2 separate regions of the Homo sapiens genome follow, and region 1 is linked to region 2. The links are contacts of gene promoters, found by promoter capture Hi-C in blood cells and fetal thymus (Javierre and others, 2016). All regions are on one chromosome and are shown on one strand. Each heading gives the region's core, a stretch centred on a gene start or on the middle of the fragment in contact. The rest is flanking DNA. Distances are from core to core; before and after follow the strand shown.

Region 1 (2,700 bases), core at 4-2,503, 1.3 Mb before region 2:
AGAACAAAAATTAGAAGCCCTGCTTTCTGATTCAAAGGCTCTTCCTACCTGGATGAAAAGATATCACACTCCTGAAATGAATTTACAGAAATGTGAACTCTCGAGCTCCTGTATAAATACACCCTGAAGTGTGCACAGTATTCTTCCCTTCAAAGTTCCTGAAGACTACTAGTCCCGGAGTTTGAGAGGCATTATAGTCTAGTAATAACTAATCGATAATGTAGTACCCCTTGACCAAAATATTCAAGCAGTCAGATACGATGATTGGATATTCCAAATCGATACAGCAATCCTTAAAACTCAGTGAGTCTGTGTTGTCTATAATGTGCTAGTTCCAGCACACTGAAAGCTTCCTCTGCAAAACCCAGACAACGGGGGCATTGTAATTGCCAAGAGTACCGTGCTAACGATACCTGTTATTTCTTGGGATCCCCATTCTATCAAGTTTAGTGACAACAGTTCGATCACCCAACAGGCTCCAGTGTGGTATAGAATCAGATGGAGGGAAGGTTGTCGGGGGGAGGCAAAACAGTGAAAAAGTTCCCCTTCTACAAGATTCCTGGTCAAATAGCCAGTGGCTACCACATTCCTCAGAATAACCAAGTGTCTGTGTATAAGCTTTCTCCTAGCAAATTTACACACTTGTGTTATCTCACGTGTTCCTAGTGCTGTGGGAACAACCATTAGGGAGGCCAGAGGCTGCTGTACCTCCCTTTTACACAAAAAAGAAAACTGAGGCAGCAACTGGTTATCTTATAAATGTGTCCACGATGACTTGGTCACTTGTGGGATCCCAACGGCCAGGACATAGGATTCCTATTCTCTGAGAGGAAGCTTCCATCCCCTACTTAACATGTCAAACTCCAAGGCTGAGAGGGGGAAGAAAAGGAATCTAAGTCCCTTTATCACGGAAGAAAAAAAGGGACTCTCCATTTGGACTTTCCGCCCCTTCTAAGGCCTCGCTCCCAGGCTCGGAGACGCGCCCCGCCCCAGGGGAAAAGGTGCTGGCCCGGCCCCACGGGGCGCGGCCTCGCCTCCCGCACCCCAGGTCCCTACCGCCCAGCAGGGCGCGCTGCCACTCTGAGCAGACACCTGTCCCTTCGCCACAATCGGCGACTCCCCAAGGAACTGACGCCCCCAGAGCCACCACCACCGCCGGGACTGCCAGCTGCCAGCGGGCCCCGCAAGCCCTAGGAGCTGCAGGAATCCTCGTAAACTTACAGTTTTCCTACAGCGTGCGCGTCACAGCGGGGTGACGTCACGGGCCCAGCAGTCGGGGAGGTCAAGCCACGGGGCGCGGGCCGCTGGGCCCCCAGGCTCCGCCCTCGCCCCGCCCCGGCGCCGCGGCGGGAGACACGCCCCCGAGCTCCACGCCCTCGAGCTCCACGCACCTCCCCGTAGCAGACACCCCGCGCAGGCGCAGACGGCCTCTGCGCCCGCATGCCTGTGGGCTTCGCCGACCGGGGCGCCTGCGGCGGCGACTGCTCTACCAAAGCCTCACTCAAAGCCTGAAGTCGGGGTTAGAGGAGGAGGAGGGGCCGACAAAAGGGGACGGAGACCTTCAGAAATACTGTAAACAAGCTGTCGCCCTGGGGGCTGGAGTAAGACGCCTGGGTTGTGAGGTAGTTTTTCCACAGACATTGCCCGCCTTCCTCACGTGTTCGTTAAAAGTTCTCCACGTGTGGAAACAGCCATTTGCTCTCCATCAGGTGCTGGCGGGTCCTCAGCCCTGAAAAGACAGCTCTCCCAGGGTCCCTCGCTCCTCCCCGGCTCGACGCGGCTCCCGCTAGACTCCGCCCAGACCCCGAGCAGTCCCCGCCCATCTCTTGACTATGCCCCTCCCACGCCCACTTAGGCCTTGCCCCTGGGTCCCGCCCTTCCGGCTCCCGCCCCTGGCTCCCGGCTCCCGCGGGCCCCCACCTGCCCTTCTTGCCCTGGCGCCGCCTCCAGCCCAGCCCGTTTCTTGCAGATTTTAGCTTCTCCCTTGCCTGCCGCCTTTCCCGTTTCGGCTCGGTGAAGCTACCTATGGGTTGCTGTTCATTTAACAAACGGTGATCCGGATAAACATGTTCACTTCTTCGCCTGGGCAAACTTTCCAGCCCCCGACCCACTCATGTCACGATACCTTCCCGTGTCCAAGTCCGGCTCTCTGCTCCCCACTTTTTTTTTTTTTTTTTTTTGAGACAGAGTGTTTCTCTGTCTCCCAGGCTGGAGTGCAGTGGCGCGATCTCAACTCACAGTACCCCCTGCCTCCCGGGTTCAAACGATTTTCTTGCCTCAGCCTCCTGAGTAGCTGGGATTACAGGCGCGCGCCACCACAGCCGGCTAATTTTTATGTTTTAGTAGAGACAGGGTTTCACCATGTTGGCCAGGATGGTCTCCATCTCTTGACCTCGTGATCCGCCCGCCTCGGCCTCTCAAGGTGCTGGGATTACAGGTGTGAGCCGCCGCGCCCGGCCTCTTTGCTCTTTTATACTCTCAGAAGCAATGAGTTCTGGTTAAAAAAAAGGGCTCGATAGACGGAAAAAATGAAGGCTTAAAGAACTGACAACAAAATATTAACATTTGGCTTGTGGAATTCTTACACTCTCGTAAGCAGAAAAAACAAATGTTATGGCAAAAAAGTGTCTCAGACAAATCCGTCTTGGGGGGAAAAAAATTAAAAGAATGAGAAAAACAGACTTCGGAATAAATAGACCC
Region 2 (2,700 bases), core at 84-2,583:
CTCCTTCGAAATTTAGATCTATAAAAGTTACTTAAATTGGGTCTTTTCTCCCCCTATGTTGAGATACCAGAGAGCAGGAGAACTTAAATTTATTTTACAAATAGGTAAGGTTACAGGCTTCAGAAGAGAGAGGTACTCCAAACAAATCTGCAAGATATTCGCAAGGATCACAGAAAAAGTCAGGGATAGTGGTTTATTATCCTCCGACCAACTAGCTCTGGAGAGGGATGGATACAAACGTCCCAGAAAGAGGACACTGAAAGTAAGTCTTATCTTCTAGAAAAGTAAGTCGTCCGGGCAAACACGCTGCACCCTCGACATTTCCTTGCAGAGGGGGAGAAAAGCCTCATAGAGCAGCAGGCGACATGACATGCCCGTCTGAGGCTCCACGTGGGGGCTGCACTGAGCCCAACAAGCTTCCCAGACCATGGGGCAATCAAATTCCCCGACTGTGCACAGAACCTGCGCTCCCGGCCCGGGCAGCGGCGCGCAGGCCGCAGTGGCCCTGGAGCGCCACCCAGCGGCCCACGGAGAGGCCTGTAGGCGGGTCCTCCACGGCTCCCGACTCGCCGCACCCCCACAGCCACCCAGCCCGTTCCCCTCTCCGGATGCACAAGGCCCAACCCAAGAACTAAGACACAAAATGGCTGCCGGCAGCTTCGTCACGTGACCCCTTTGTGCCTTTCGGGCCCCCGAACTCCGCGGGACCCGGGTACAAGTGGCCAGGGTCAGCGGGTGGCCTTAGAAGGGGCCCCGCTGGGCCGCGGCGGCCGGGGGTCGAGGCTGGGGGAGGCGGGGTATAGGCCCGGCCGGCGACTGAGAGTCGGCGGCGAAGAGAAGATGGCGGCCATTTTGTGTGGGTTTGCTGCTCCGCCGCCGCCGCAGGCAGCAGAGGGAGCGGGCCTGACGGTGGGTCGGACAGGGGAGTTAACACGTACCGACTCCTCTTCCTTCTCCATTCCGGTGGGCATCTGCGGCACGGCCCTGTTTATCGAGGCGTATTCGTGCAGGTCGGGCAGATCCTCACAGCGGAAAACCGGCAGCGGCTTCGAGGCGTCTAGCGCCCGCGCCCGAAACGACAGTTTACTCATCTCAGGCGCAGCAGATACCTCTCCGCTCTGGGGAAACGGCCCCGGCCAGCGGGATCATGGAGAACCGGGGGTTCGGTCCCCACTCGCCAACCGCTGCCGGGGACTTGAGGGGCGGAGCGCAGAGCCCGCCGTCCGGGCACTAACACCAGCCGGGAGGGTGGGAGGCTGTGCCGCTCCGCTCCTCTCTCGCTCGCTCTCTTCAATACGCCATGGCCAACATGGCGGACATTAAAACTCCACTGTGCGCTCTTCAGCCAACCCCAGCCATTCCCCACACTGCATCGCGCAGCGGCGCGGGCACGCGGGCGGGGGGAGGGAGCGCGGGCTCGAGGCCGGCGCCGGCACGAAGCGCGCGTCCCGCCAACCCCCGGCACCCGCCGGCCTCGCTTCCCGCGCCTCGCTGCTCCGGGCCCCCGCCCTTCGCGGGTCCGGGGGCGGACAGGGCGGACTGGGCGCTCGGACACCGGGCGCCGGCTCTTGGGTCGTGCTCTCCTGCAGCGCACACGCTCACTTTCTCACGCTCGCTCCCTCCCGGCGCCGCTTTCTGACGGGCGAACAAGGTGCGGGAAAACTCTCTCCACCAGCACGCCGCCGTTTGGAAAGGCAGCTGGGGAGAGTGGCAGGCGGGGCTCGGGCCCCGGGCACCTGGGGCTCGGAGGGCTCGGACCTCTGGGGTGCTCGCCAGCGGCTGCCCCGGGGCCACGGCCGCCCCCACGGGGCTTCGGAGGGGCGCTCCAGAGGCGCCGCGCGCCGCCGTCTGCCGCGGGGGGCGAACGCACAGCCTAGTTCCCGCGGCGCCTTAGGTCTTTACGATAAAAATACAAACTGAATTAGGGGCAGATGCTACTTTGAGTAAACTTTTATCAGCAGTTATTTTTATGTCCTAATGCAACTTTGGATTATAATGTTTTATAGGCACCGCATCAAGTCATTGATCCGTTTCCCACGCATTGGGCTTAATATAAATGATAGGTATCCTATTCTACAAAGTAGATTTTTTTAAATCCTGCATTTTCATCTACACATATTTACTTTTTAAATAGTAACTGAAGCAAAGGAAATTATTACCCACCACTATAACATTTAAAAGCAAGATCTACTTCAGAATTTAAAGCCAGTTCTTTATATCTAGCTCATGATTCTGTACTCAAAGAGACTGCGGCTTCATCATAGCCGTGGGTTCACACTTTCATCATTTGTCCTCTGAAAAACTTTGTAACATTGAATCATATAAAGACCTGTCGTACTCCCGCCAAACAAAAAGCTGAATTATTAGATTTAGATGGATATGATAGATGGGTGGCATCGGTTTATATTACACATGAAAATGGGTATCCTGAGATCTCTTCGTTGTTGTTGTTGTTAATAGGGAAGATTGTTGGGGTGGGTTTAATAAATTGGCAGCCAAATTTCAATTCGAGTTTCAATTTGTATCTTAGTGCACAATTTTGTATCTTGTGCAACAAGATACAAAAAGATACAAAAATGTTTTGAGTTGCTTTTCTCCCTGGGAACTACGTAGTAAAAGTAATCACGCTCCTTAAATACTGGGCTTGATATGAGCTGTCACTAGCTTAGGGCACACAGGCAAACTGCTAGCCTCCAGGCT

The links. The method cuts DNA at HindIII sites, captures the fragments that hold promoters and counts their contacts. A CHiCAGO score of 5 or more calls a contact.
Region 1: a contact is called between the fragment with the promoter of ZNF438 here and the fragment with the promoter of EPC1 in region 2, in 1 of 17 cell types (neutrophils). The highest score is 6.7, in neutrophils.

What each region holds. Positions count from the first base shown.
Region 1 is chr10:31,030,612-31,033,311 of GRCh38, forward strand. It overlaps ZNF438 (zinc finger protein 438), which reads right to left and starts at 1,254. Exons shown (of 7, transcript NM_001143768.2): 1 at 1,222-1,254. It overlaps LOC105376481 (a long non-coding RNA gene), which reads left to right and starts at 1,897. Exons shown (of 3, transcript XR_001747410.3): 1 at 1,897-2,700. RefSeq lists a silencer at 916-1,475. The HindIII fragment of the contact is 8,810 bases long and covers 833-2,700 here.
Region 2 is chr10:32,345,825-32,348,524 of GRCh38, forward strand. It overlaps EPC1 (enhancer of polycomb 1), which reads right to left and starts at 1,334. Exons shown (of 14, transcript NM_001272004.3): 1 at 939-1,334. The coding sequence starts at 1,091. It overlaps EPC1-AS1 (EPC1 antisense RNA 1), which reads left to right and starts at 1,540. Exons shown (of 2, transcript NR_104163.1): 1 at 1,540-1,651. RefSeq lists silencers at 365-644, 1,315-1,784, 1,795-1,924 and enhancers at 865-964, 985-1,044. The HindIII fragment of the contact is 3,163 bases long and covers 415-2,700 here.